2 separate regions of the Homo sapiens genome follow, and region 2 is linked to region 1. The links are contacts of gene promoters, found by promoter capture Hi-C in human tissues and cell types (Jung and others, 2019). All regions are on one chromosome and are shown on one strand. The core of a region is centred on a gene start or on the middle of the fragment in contact, and the rest is flanking DNA. Distances in the headings are between cores, read along the strand shown.

Evidence for each region. The method cuts DNA at HindIII sites, captures the fragments that hold promoters and counts their contacts. A contact is called where the count stands out against the background at its distance.
Region 2: a fragment that was not itself captured here is called in contact with the fragment with the promoter of ODF1 in region 1 in 1 of the 25 tissues and cell types used here (lymphoblastoid cells).

The regions. Positions count from the first base shown.
Region 1 is chr8:102,548,002-102,554,940 of GRCh38, forward strand. ODF1 (outer dense fiber of sperm tails 1) reads left to right here and starts at 3,588. Exons shown (of 2, transcript NM_024410.4): 1 at 3,588-4,046. The coding sequence starts at 3,727. It overlaps LOC124901998 (a long non-coding RNA gene), which reads left to right. Exons shown (of 3, transcript XR_007061039.1): 2 at 1,697-1,808; 3 at 2,506-2,595. LOC105375684 (a long non-coding RNA gene) reads right to left here and starts at 2,627. Exons shown (of 2, transcript XR_928478.3): 1 at 2,542-2,627. The HindIII fragment of the contact is 1,295 bases long and covers 2,486-3,780 here.
Region 2 is chr8:102,333,160-102,340,098 of GRCh38, forward strand. All of the region lies in intron 9 of UBR5 (ubiquitin protein ligase E3 component n-recognin 5), which reads right to left. Among named protein-coding and RNA genes, the nearest start is that of UBR5, 76 kb to the right of the region's middle. The HindIII fragment of the contact is 3,034 bases long and covers 1,122-4,155 here.

The DNA.
Region 1 (6,939 bases), core at 2,338-4,837:
AGTGATTCTCCCCACCTCGGTCTCCCAAAGTGCTGGAATTACAGGTGTGAGCCACCACACCTAGCCTATGGATTCTTTTTTACAGAGTTCAGGTCACACTGTGTGTATACTTTCATATTTGATGTTTAAGCACTGTGTACTGACCTAACAACTGTTAGAAAAGTGTCTTTGTAACATTGGTCTGGTGACGAGACTTGAGCTGTAGCTGTGCTACCTGCTGGAAGAGGCAGAGGGGACCTTCTTTGGCTCATGATTTCACCAACATTGGGGACCAAGCAAGTGTTGCCCAACTTGGGAAAGTGTCAAGACCTGCCTTCCATCCAGAGGAGGTTCTATCCGGACACCAGCCAAGGTGAATGAGAGATTCCATGGACATAGTCCTGCATACGGAAGGTCCTAGTTCCATATTAGAATCCATATTAAAATCCTTCTGATATGAATAGATCACATTTCCATCTCATCATTAAAGAAGACACTACCTTTATTTAGTCACTTAAAATGATAAGAATATACTTCATGATGAAGAGTAAAATCACTAGGAAGGGACAGGAGTGGTGACTCATGCCTGTAATCCCAGCACTTTGGGAGGCCAAGGTGAGCAGATGGCTTGAGCCCAGGAGTTTGAGACCAGGCTGGGCAACATGGTGAGACCCCATTTCTACAAAAAATACAAAAGTTAGGCAGGCATGGTAGTGCATGGCTATAGCCCCAGCTACTGGGGAGGCTGAGGTGGGAGGCTCACCTGAGCTCAGGAGGTCAAGGCTGCAGAGAGCACATGCCACTGTGCTCCAGCCTGGGTGACAGAGTAAGACCCTGTCTCAAAATAAAAAAAGAAAAATCACTAGGAAGGTGGGATAATGGGAGAATCCTAGTTGAAATATAGCTATACCCATCTTAATAATGTACCATGTATACACAGATGTGTGTATTTAGGCACCTGAACTTGTGTATATAATAATATTAAACTGAGAGCTTGCCTGCTTCAATCTTTGCTGACATTTGCTAAGGGATAGAATTCAAGGTGATATAAGAATTCTCTGTCACCTGGAGCTAGAGAAATCTGTACAACTCCTGCAATTAACTCTCAGGAAAGAGTAGGCCATATTTCTATTAATAGGGTCCACCCCTCAGAATCAAATCACAGTGGAATCACTTTTAAAGAGGTCAGAATTTGTCCATAGAGGAGAATCATTCAGCTTTGCTTTTTGACTCATTCCACGTGACTCAAGGGGCCAGCCTCTCATTCTAATGCCTCTAGGGACACTTGTTTGCTAAGACACATTATCTGCACAGAAAAGGGCCTCCTAAGTCAAGGCTGGGGAACATCGAGCCATTGGGAATGCCATGCTTGGTCTAGTGACTCCCAAGGGACTCCAGCTGAGGGGGCTGTCGCCCTCTGTTACTCCTTCTATGAGCCTTTCATGGACTCCTTCACTCTCCTCATTTCTACTTATTTTTCCCTGGGAGTCGGCTTCAGCTCTCTTTTTAAATTCTGAATTATCTTGCCTGTTTCCAGGGTTCCAACTACCTATGGAATTGTGGCTTCCTAATTTATATCTCTAGCCCAGGCTTTCCTCAAATTCCAGACCCTCTTATCCACAGAATACTCCAGATTTCTACCTTAAAGTTGTCACCAGCACCACCTGTTCACCAAATCCCCAAACTTACTCTTCTCCCTGTGTTATTTTTATCTCAGTGGCACCAAGAGTCTGCCAAGCTTGAAAGCTGGAAGTCACCACTGATTCCTCCCTCACTCCATCCTCACTCTGTTCACTAAATCCTGTTGAATTCACCCAGATGGTCATTCAGTGAGTACATTTCAAGCACCTGCTATGTGCCAGGCATTGTGTTAGGTATCTACTGCGAAGCAAAAATAGACAAGGTCCTTGCCCTCGTGGCTTACAGTCCAGCTGGGGAAACAATATCATGAAGGAAATGTATCCTAAGTTAAGAGAGTGTTTAGTCTGGGAGACAGAGAAGGCTTCCCCAAGAAAGGGGGAGATCTAAAGGGTGCCTTAAGAATTAAATGGATGAAAGTCATAGGTGGGGAGTTCAATTTCTAAGCAGGCAGAACGTCCTGTGTATGAGCTCTGAATGAGGTGGAAGGAATGAGGAATGTCCTTCAAGGGACTAAGGAACGGCCTCTGGAAAGTGAGTGGTCTTCCAGGAAGGCCATCGTGGCTGAGGGGTAATGAATTGCAATAATACTAGGATGGGAGAGGAGAGTGGGGAAGTGGGAGAGGCCCCATTGCTCAGCACCTGGTAAAGATTTTGGTCCTTTTTTTGAGAGGACAGAGAAGACTTTTAAGGTGAGTGGGATGATGGGTGGGGAAGGTTGAGGAATGACAGATTTCTATATGAAAGTCGCTGTGGCTACAATGTGGAAAATGGATTAGATGGGGCCTGGGCAGAGGTGGGGGAAGGCTTTCCCATTGGCTTCCTCCTTGCCATCCCCATAGCCATGATCCCCAGTCCAGATTTTTGTTGTCTCTTCTTGTCTTGCAGCAGAAAACCCCACTACTATTGTCCCTAGCAACTTACCTTCAGTGTGGCTGTCTCACTTCTGACAAAAGAAAAGAAAATCAACAATCCTTCGTTGGGCTCAAAATAAAGTTCAGAGTCCTTAGTCTGGCTACAGGTCCCTTCAAACCTGGCCCTTGTCTCCCTCACCAGTGTCACATCCAACCACTTGTCATCAATACCTGAGCTCTAGTTCATACAAGGGAGACTCGAGAGCTGGACCGCAGTTTGAGGTGAAAGGACCAGAGGAGTAGAGGCACCGAGAGCCAAATCTGAGGCCGAATCAGAGGTCTAGGATGTTAACTGAACAGAAAGTAAAGGAAACTGGCCGAAGCGGGGGTTTCAGGCAGTTGGCTTCCAGCATCTTCAGGCGGTTGGCTACAAGAACATCAAAGACCAACATTTGGGAAGCACTCAGGGACAAGACATCCGGAGGCTTGGATGCAAGACCAAAGGTGTAGTTGATGGGAGGTAGTTCCCCAGGACAGGCCCCCGAGGACTGACAGATGGGAGCTTAAGGACAGGACCCCCAACCAGTAGAGAAATGAGGTTCCCGAACAGCCATGACCACAGCTGGCGCAGAATGGGCAGGACTCAGAGACTTGTAACTCAGAAGGTCAAGGACAATGGCTGACTTGAGGATGACTTGGTAGGAGGAGAATGATGAGAACATTCTTTATATTCTACCTGTCTGGAGACAGAATGAATTCTAGAACAAAAGGAGCAAGGCCAAGCTTCCAATCAAGGCTAGAGCTAGAAGGTCATGGAGAAAGGCGTGGGCAGCTCCTGCCTTCGCCTGCACCAAGTTCAACAAACACACAGTCATAGCCATGGCTGGTCCCCAGAGCACACACAAGGCAAGGATGTTAGTGGCCAGCCCCATGCACCCCGATGAGCTATGCTCGCTTGGGAGACCCATCCTCCTTGAAGGTGAGTGAAATCTCAACACGAGTATGGTTCTGAGAGTAGCTCTGTAACTCTGAGGATGGTCTCTGGAGACCATGACTGTGTACAGTTCACATGGTAACCAGAAGACTATGACATACTTCAGAAGGTGGTGAGGTCATAGAACACAAGCTTTAAAGTAAGTGAATCATGTGTGCCTCATTTATTTTTAAAAGCAACTTCTGAGAAGGGCTTAGAACAAATTTTTTCCCGGAGTGCCATTTCCCAAAGGTACTCACAGAACAATCAGGTGTGACCATAATGGCTGCACTGAGTTGTCTCTTGGACAGTGTCAGAAGGGACATAAAGAAGGTGGACAGAGAACTAAGGCAACTGAGATGCATCGACGAATTTAGCACACGGTGCCTGTGCGACTTGTATATGCACCCCTATTGCTGCTGTGACTTGCACCCATATCCGTACTGCTTGTGCTATTCCAAGCGATCACGCTCTTGCGGCCTGTGTGATCTCTACCCATGTTGCCTGTGTGATTATAAGCTTTACTGTCTGCGACCATCTCTCAGAAGTTTGGAGAGGAAAGCCATCAGAGCCATAGAAGATGAGAAGCGAGAGCTTGCCAAGTAAAATAACTTATTTTTAAATTTTTATAGTCGGTATATTAGCCTTATAAGTTGGAATAAGGAAAAATATGTGACAATCAATAGTTGAACAAAGATTAAAAGGGTTCAGGATAATGACCCTGGTGACTTAGGAAAGATTTAAGGAAAGAAGAGTAAATGAGTCCATGATGGGAATTGTAGGGTTCTCAAAAGACAATGTAATGATGTCGATTGGCAAGGTCGTCGGTGGTTTATAGCAAGAATGCCAGTATGATAAATAATGCGGCTTTAATGAAGGGAAGAAACAGGGGGTGTCATTAAAAAGCCATTGGAAGCAGCAAACTAAACATTTTTCCTGGTTATGAGTAAAGTGATTTGAGTATATTTGGACTTACAGAAATGACTACAGGAGAAGTAATAATAATAGATCAAATCCTTAATGTGTGCCAGAGGCTTTACAAGCAGGAGAGCAAATTGAACAGTAGAGGCATTGCCTTGGTTTTGTGGGAATATCATTCTCCTATCCCCCCACTCCAGGCAAAGACTTACCTTGTATCTGGAATTAGGTCTATCATGTTGGCCTCCCCTCTAACTCTAGCAAAGGTCTTGCAAATAAACTATGGCACTGAGTTGTAGCTTTCAGGATAGACTTGAAAGGCTTTTTAATTGAATTGGGTAATTAAAAAGAGTCAGTTTTTTAAAAAAATTTTTGTTTTAGATTATATTTTCTTTTTGCCTGGAGAAAACTTTCCTTTTCTAACTTTTTACATATGCCATTTAGTCTGTTACTGTTGATGAAAAAGATGGTTGAAAGTGCTGTCCCTGGTTAAATAAATAATACATTCATGCACTGGAATAATAAGTAAATATAGAAAGGATTGATGAAGCATCTTACATATTGATGTATTAAGTCAAACAAGCAAAGTGCAGAAAAACTGATAGACAGATGACAGATAGATAGATAGATAGATAGATAGATAGATAGATAGATGATAGATAGATAGAGTCTCTTGACAACAGTGACAGTGATGTTTCTTTGGAAAAAGCAATAGGAGGCCGGGTGCATTGGCTCATGCCAGTAATCCCAGCACTTTGGGAGGCGGAGGCGGGCAGATCACCTGAGCTCAAGAGTTCGAGACCAGCCTGGCTAACATGGTGAAACCCCATCTCTACTAAATACAAAAAAAAAAAAAAAAAAAAATTAGCCAAGCGTAGTGGCACGTGCCTGTAATCCCAGCTACTCGTGAGACTGAGGCAGGAGAATCACTTGAACCCAGGAGGCAGAGGTTGCAGTGAGCCAAGATTGCACCACTACACTCCAGACCGGGTGACAAAGTGAGACTGTCTCAAAAAAAAAAAAAAAAAAAGGATAATTATTGTCTAGGTCACCAGCCACCAATGGTCAGGAATGAACCTCCCTCATAGCCTGGGAGCTTTCACCTGTAAATTCATCTATACTCTTTGAACCAATGTTTGTTTTTATTTCTTAGGGCATCAAGTCACATAAATTGCTCACACTGTGAGGCAGGGACTCTTTTTAAAATATTTGGTCCAAGTTAAGGTTTCCTTGTGAGCAGATCAGTATCCACTCTCCTCCTACTTTTGGATACTTGAATACCCTTGTCCAGGTCTTTCCAGCCTCTGTCTTCCTGGCTTCTCTCCTATCCCCAGACTCTACCAATTAAAATCCCTCTCTGTCCTGTGCTGTCTACTCTCTTGATGCCTCTTTCAGAAGCCTTGTTTCTTGGCATGCAGTAGAAACAGCTTCAAGCTTAATTCTCGGCAGTGTAGTTTAGGCAAGAGGTAATGTTTTCTCTGGTTTGTGATGCTCTTCCTGACAGCGTCTGGGTCTTTGCCTATTTTTTCTCTGCCTGCAGGCAATATGTGAAGCTGGTGATGTCTTTACATTAATTTCTGGATCTCGGAAATGATAACTCCAAGTCCATTGTAGAAATGACCTCAGGCTTGTCCGCTTTATCTCTTCCAATTCACACCACCTTGTGAAATTTCTATGCTCTATTTCTGACAACTTGACATTTCACTCTCCAGAAGGGCTTAGTGTCACTTGCAAACCTAAATATTCAATTTTCCTGAATATGGGTGAAAATGTTAAACCCTGATTCTAGCCTCAGTCCCAGAAGGCCCCCAGTGTAGTATTTTTTCTTCTAGTGCAGTGCCTTTTATTCTTATCTCTAAGCTAGCGCCTGATCCATAACTAAATAGATGCAGAAATATCATGTTGATTCAATTTTTTAAAACAATCTTTGGTGTGAAAGCTTGCCCAAGGCTTTTTGAGTTTAGAATTCATATTCACATGACCTTCCTCCCCTTTAAAGAATGCAAGGGGGTTGGTTAGTTATGACATATCCTTTCAGATGGCAGGCTGTGTTGTCCAGAAGGTTCTTTGCCCAATATGAAGTAAAGACTCTATAGTCTATAGTTGCCTTGGCCCCCTTGAAACTGTTTTTCTGTGTCACAGTCAATCTGCTGTGTCTCTGGGTCCTCCTTTAATAACTGGTAAAAAGCCTCAACCAACAATTTCTTAATTGATCCCACAGGTTTCTTGAGCACTCCTGACTATATGTTATTTGATTGATGCATGTGTGTGGTGTTTTCTTAGACTGGGCATAGAAAATCCAATCCAAGCTGGGTGCAGTGGTTCACACCTGTAATCTCAGCACTTTGGGAGGCTGTAATAGGAGAATTGCTCAAGTCCGGGAGTTTGGGACCAGCCTGAGCAACACAGGGAGTCCCCATCTCTATAAAAATTAAAATAAAAAAATTAACCAAGTGTGGTGGCACATGCTTGTGGTCCCAGGTACTCAGGAGGCTGAGGTGGGAGGACTGCTTGAGCCTGGGAGGTCAGGACTGCGGTAAGCCATGATTATGCCACTACACTCCAGCCTGGACAATA
Region 2 (6,939 bases), core at 1,389-3,888, 220 kb before region 1:
AAGAGGACAAAAAAATCACCTACTACTTCTTGCCTGCTTCAGATTTATCTGTATTAAAGAAATTTACTGTATGTAAATACAAAACAATCAAATACATACACAAGGACAGTATTTTAGCTCATTCATTTCATAAGTCATAGAAAACAATGTTTTTATTGTTTTTATGAAGTACGAATTGCTGCTTCTTAGCAAGCTGACATCTGCTCAATCCAACTAGAGAAAGTGGCTATGCATGTTTCCTTAAAGAGCAGTAGTTTGTAGCTCTATTTTTCAACAAAAAGAAGTTGAATCAGTAAATCTGCAACTGTCCAACATAAATGGGTCATAAATTTAACTAGAAATCCTTCCTCAAAGGGGGAAGGAAAACTGTTAAAAATATGAGACATGAAATAGCGGCCAAAGCTTTAAAAAACACTTGGCCCAGCAACACCAACTCTATTAACTGGCCACACCTATGTTTACTAATTCATATTGTGAAAAAGTTGGCATCTCTATTCCTGAATTTTGCCCCACAAAACTTGGTTTTCACATTTTTTCTACTATGAGCAAACACTGGTTTTATCATTAGGTAGCAGCTCCAACTCCTATCACTAAATACAATATACTGCACATCATGATTGGAATGATGGCAACTACAAGATACACTGCAATTTGGCCAACTGTGTCCATTCACACTTCATCTCTCTCTGCCTATCCGCTTTTCCATATGCTTTTTCTGCCGAGTTTCTTTTCCTTTTTATGATCATTTTTCATTTTGTTCTTACTTCATATTAAATTACATTTGTGACACATCTAGTTAATCCTGGAAGTTTCCAGATGTCAATAAAAACAAAACAAAGACCTTCCCCAGCCAACTTCCACTTTTAGAATCCTCTGCCTTCATTTTCCTCAGTGTTGGAAGCACAATGAAGGTGAAGCAATATAACCCACAAGTCTGATCAGCTGGTTCCAACAGGGAGGTTGCTCCAAAGAGCTTAAACAAGGGGTCAAATGAAATGGATCCATTTCCTCTCAACACCATTCAAAGAAACAGAGTAACATACAACTCTACAATATAAAGGGCTGGTGGGAATAATTCTACTTATTGTTTCCTCTAGACTAGATAGAAATAGATCCAGAACAGTAAGGAATATTAATGTTTTTTAGCGGGGAAACAGAACCTCACTCTGTCGGCCAGGCTGGAGTGCAGCAGCACGATCTTGGCTCACTGCAACCTCCGCCTCCTGCGTTCCAGCGATTCTCCCACCTCAGCCTCCCACGTAGCTGGGACTACAGGTGCACGCTACCGCACCTGGCTAATTTTTGTATTTTTAGTAGAGACGAGGTTTCACCATGTTGGCCAGACTGGTCTCGAACTCCTGACCTCAAGTGATCCGTCTGCCTTGGCCTCCCAAAGTGCTGGGATTGCAGGCATGAGCCACCAAGCCCTGCCAGTTAATGTTAATTAACAGTACCGAGTCAGGCGCCGTGGCTCACGCCTGTAATTCCAGCACTTTGGGAGGCCGAGGCAGGCAGATCATGAGGTCAGGAGATCGAGACCATCCTGGCTAACACGGTGAAACCCCGTCTCTACCAAAAATACAAAAGACTTAACCGGGCATGGTGGCAGGTGCCTGCAGTCCCAGCCACTCGGGAGGCTGAAGCAGGAGAATGGCATGAACCCAGGAGGCAGAGCTTGCAAGGAGCCGAGATCGTGCCACTGCACTCCAGCCTGGGCAACAGAGCAAAACTCCCTCTCACCAAAAATAAATAAATAAATAAATAAAATAAAAAAATAAAAAGTATCTGCACTCTCATATTCACTGTGGTAGTATTTATAATAGGTAATATATGGAAAAAGCTTAAGTGTCCTTCATGGACAAATGGATGAAGAAAACACACACACACAGACACAACAGAAAAAAAGGATAATTATTCAGCTTAAAAAAGGAGATCTTGCCATTTGCCACAACATGGATAGACCTAGAGGACATTATGCTAAGAGAAATAAGATAGACACAGGGAAAAAACATATTGTGTGATCTCACTTATATGTGAAGTCTTTTTTTTTTTTTAAAGGTCAAATATACAAAGGTAGAGAATAAAGCAGTGGTTACCATGGGCTGACAAGCAGTGTGGGGGTGTGAGGGAGGGAAAATGGGGTTATAGGATACACAGCAGACATGTAGGATGCAAATCTAGAGCTGCAATTGTTATGTCATGAGGATTACAGTTAATAAAATGGTATCATATTATGGATTTTTGTTAAGTAGATTTTAGCTGCTCTTGTCACAAAATAGTAACTGTGAGATGATAGATGTGTTAATCTATTATAGTAACAATATAAATACATGTATCCTATAACCTGTTGTAAACTTCAAATATACACAATAAAATTTATTTATTTATTTAGTTAGTTAGTTTTTTGAGACAAGAGTCTTGCTCTGTCGCCCAGGCTGTAGTGCAGTGGTGTGATCTTGGCACACTGCAACCACCGTCCCCCAAGTTCAAGTGATTCTTGTGCCTCAGCCTCCCAAGTAGCTGGGATTACAGGCATGTGCCACCATGCCCAGCTAGTTTTTGTATTTTTAGTAGAGACGGGGTTTCACCACTTTGGCCAGATTGGTCTCGAACTCCTGACCTCAGGTGATCCACCCGCCTTGGCCTCCCAAAGTGCTAGGATTACAGGCGTGAGCCACCGCGCCTGGCCCAAGTGCAGATATGCATGATTTCATCTCCTCTGGGTACGTACATAATAGGGATTGCTGGGTCCTATGGTGGCTCTATTTTTAACTTCTTTAGGAACTTCCATACTGCTTTCCATAATAGCTATACCAATCTAGTTCCCAACAGCATACAAGGGTTCTCTTTTCTCTGCATCACTGTCAACATGTGCTATCTCTTGTCTTTTTGATAACAACCATCCTAATGGGTGTGAGATGGTATCTCACAGTGGTTTTAATTTGCATTTCCCTGACAATTACTGATGTTAAGCACCTTTTCAAATATCTGTTAGCCATTTTTATGTCTTCTTTGAAGAAACGTCTTATAAGGTCCTTACCCGGTTTTTAATCAGGTTATTTTTCTGCTACTGACTTCAAGTGTGCTTTATAAATTTTGAATATTAACTCCTTATGACATGCATGGTTTGCAAATATTTTTTCACAGTCTATAGAGTGCCTTTTTATTTTGTTGACTGTTTTCTTTACTATACACAAAGGTTTTTTGTTTCATGTAGCTCCATTTACTTATTCTTCCTTTTGAAGTTTGAGTTTTTGGTGTGAAATCCAAAAAAAATCACTGCCATGAGCAATGTCAAGGAGCTTTCCTTATATTTTCTCATAGTTTTTAAGGTTTCATATTTCACATTTAGGTCTTTTGTCTATTTTGAGTCGATCTTTATGTATTGTCTAAGATAGGAATCCAATTTTACATGTGAAAATCCAGTTTTCCCAGTACCACTTATTGAAGAAACTATCTTTTCCCCACTGGTGCCCTTGTCAAAAATTAGTTAATAATATATGTTTGAATTTACTTCTGGGCTCTCTACTCTGTTCCATTGGTCTATGTTTCTGTTTTTACGCCAGCACCATATGGTTTTGATTGCTTATAGCTTTGTAATACTATTTTAAACCAAGAAGTATGGTGCTTCCAATTTTCCCATTATTGCTTTCACTATTTGGGGTATTTTATGGTTCTTTACAAATTTTAGGATTGCTTTTTTATTTCTGTGAAGAATGCCACTGGAATTCTGATAGAGATTATGTATAAATCTGTACATTACTTTGAGCAGTATAAGTTTAAAAATACTAATTCTTCCCATCCATGAAGCTCCCTAGACTCAAGAGATCCTCTCGCCTCAGCCTCCCAAAGTGCTGAGATTATAAGCATGAGCCACAGCACCTAGCCAAGATTATTTTCTTAATTTCTTTTCCGGCTAGGCTGTTATTTGTGTATAGGAATACTACTGATTTTTGTATGTTGACCTCGTAGCCTGCAACTTTAATGAATTTATTAGTTCTAACAGGTTTTCTTGTGAAATTTTGGAGGGGGTTCTACATATAAGATCATGTCATCTGCAAATACAGATAATTGTACTTCTTCCTTTCCAATCTGGATGTCTTTTATTTCTTTTTCTTGTTTGATGTTCATTAGTGCTTCCAGTACTATGCTGAATGGAATTGGCAAGAGTAGGCATCCCTGCCTTGCATTAAATATTATTGGAAAAGCTCTGAGTTGCTCCCTGTTGATTGTTAGCTATGGGTTTTTTCATATATGGCTTCTATTATATGCAGGAGCTTTCCTTCCACAGCTAAACTGTTAAAGAGTTTTTATCAAGAAAGAATGCTCAACTTCTTCAAATGCTTTTTCTGCGTCAATCAAGGTGTTCATGTGATTTTCAGGTTTCATACTGCTAACATGATCTATCACATTGATTAATGTGTATATATAAAGTCAGCCTCATATGCCAGGAATAAATTCCACCTGGTCGTGATGTATATCTTTTTGATATGTGTTGAATTCAGTTTCCTGAATTTTTTTTGGAGGATTTCTGCATCAATGTTCAAAGATATTATTAGCCTATGGTTTTCTTTTCCTCTGGCGTCTTTGTCTGGCTTAGGCCTTGTAAAATGTGTTTGGTTTAGATTCTTGTTGGAAGTAGGTTGGTATAAACACATATATAATTACAATTTACATGCAGACATTCAGCAACATATTATGAAATTTCTAATCTAGAAAAAATAAATTGCAAAAATGACTGAGAAGAGAAAATGGAGCCATGTTATACAACCACCTAATTAAAAGATTACCTCTTCTCACCAAAGTAAATGAATTATCAAAGCTATTCCAGAAATGCAAAATGTAATAAGCAGTCATACAAGCCAGAAAAACAGTAAAAAACAGTAGGTGCACAGATGGTTAGATGGAAAGGTGGATGGACGGAAGGATGGAAAGAATGGCTAGAGAAGGGTGAGTAAAGGGAGCGGGAAAAAGGAGTCGGCGGGGAGTATGGGGGAAGAGAGGGAGGGGAAGCAAGAAAGGATAGATTTTAGGGAGTAGGGATAGCATAATAAGAAAGTTGATGTTTTGGGGTAAAAACCTTCAGAAACCAGTATCAACTTGGCTGGTTTCACTGTGAACATCATAACCTTGAACTTAGAGCACAGACTTAGGCACTCCCTCCCCTTCTCACTTTGGTACATATAGGCTGCCCTTAATTTCCTATTACACTAAATTATTACTATAATAAAATGTTTTCATAACTTGAATTCATTCTAGTCCAGTCAGATAAAGGGGGCATGCATGATCTGTATCTTTTTGGTCTGTGTCCAATTCACTACTAACAGAGAACCTGGCACATAACACACAAGTGCCACATAAACGTACTTCGAAATACCCAACTGGGCTCTCTCACCCTCCCATGACCTGCAGGAACTGCCCGTTCTCCCTTCCTGGGACAGGACCATGCTTCTCCTTGCTCTTTGCACTTTACATAAACTAACTTATTTAATTCTCATAACAAACCCATAATGTAAAAAGTATTACTATATCTATCTATATGAGAAAACCAAGGCAGAGAGAAGTTAAAGAACTTGATCAAGATCACACAACTAGACAGTGGTAGGATTAGGATAGGAAATCCAGCAGTTTGACTTCAGAGTCCACACTCTTTGTAATCATTCTGTGCAGCCTCCTGTGATTTCCCAATGCCTCCTGTGCTACTGTGTAGCTATTACGTATGTATGTATGGAAACCTATTATGGTACTTATTCAAACAAATTAACATTATTTTTCTTCTTCCTATAAAATCTCTCACCCTAACATCTAACAAAAGGCCTAACACATGGCACATATTTAATCAAGGTTTCTAAAGTAATAATGACTGAATGACCCTTACTTCTGTCTTTATGGAACTTTCAAGATGCCTATAATTTTCAATTATGCTTTTATATTAGTTTTGACATTTAATTCAAGAATAATTTTGGGAAATATGTGTATTTTACAGTCACCTCAAATATTTTCAGTTCAATACTATACCACAAAACCTTAAAGAAAAGAGAACATCCTATCATTAAAATAATTTTATTGGCTTACAAAAGGGTAAAACTGCCAGGCACGGTGGTCACGCCTGTAATCTCAGCACTTTGGGAGGCCGAGGAGGGTGGATCACCTGAGGTCAGGAGTTCAAGACCAGCCTGGCCAACATGGTGAAACCCATCTCTACTAAAAATATAAAAAATTAGCTGGATGTGGTGGCAGGTGCCTGTAATCCCAGCTACTCAGGAGGCTGAGGCAGCAGAATTGCTTGAACACAGGAGGCAGAGGTTGCAATGAGCCGAGATCACACCACTATACTCCAACCTGGGCAACAAGAGCGAAACTCCATCACAAAAAAAAAAAAAAGGTAAAATTTTGAAGAACTGGTTGTTCCTCTAAATGGATGCTGGGAAAGTAGGTACTAATCCAGTTCCTTTACCAACAGAATTAAGCTTGTACCCTAACAAAAGACAAAATGAAAATTACTATGGACACTAACAACCATACTTAATATTTAAGAGTATTGTATTAGGTCATTTCTGAAATTAAACTAGGATGCATATTTTGATTGCCCCCACTCCTAAAAAAGCTACTCCTTCCCGTATAAAAAAAAAACTTCATTGCTGCATCTGCCATTTACAAGACATTTGAAATAAGCAAAGACATGAAGTTTCCTTCTCCATAAAAATGAATGGATCAGAGGCAAGCCAATTCCAAGTTTACTATTGTGTACAAAATTGAGACTATCCTTTAGCAGCCTGGTATGTCAAGAACGTAGAAATAACACTTTCAGTCAAAATAATGCAAGTTACCAAGATTTTTTTTAAAAAGCAAACCCCAATCAAGATTATAAGGAAAGTCACATTTTAAGAATATTACTTTGGATGACTAATCACCACCTGTCTCCTGCACTAAACCTCA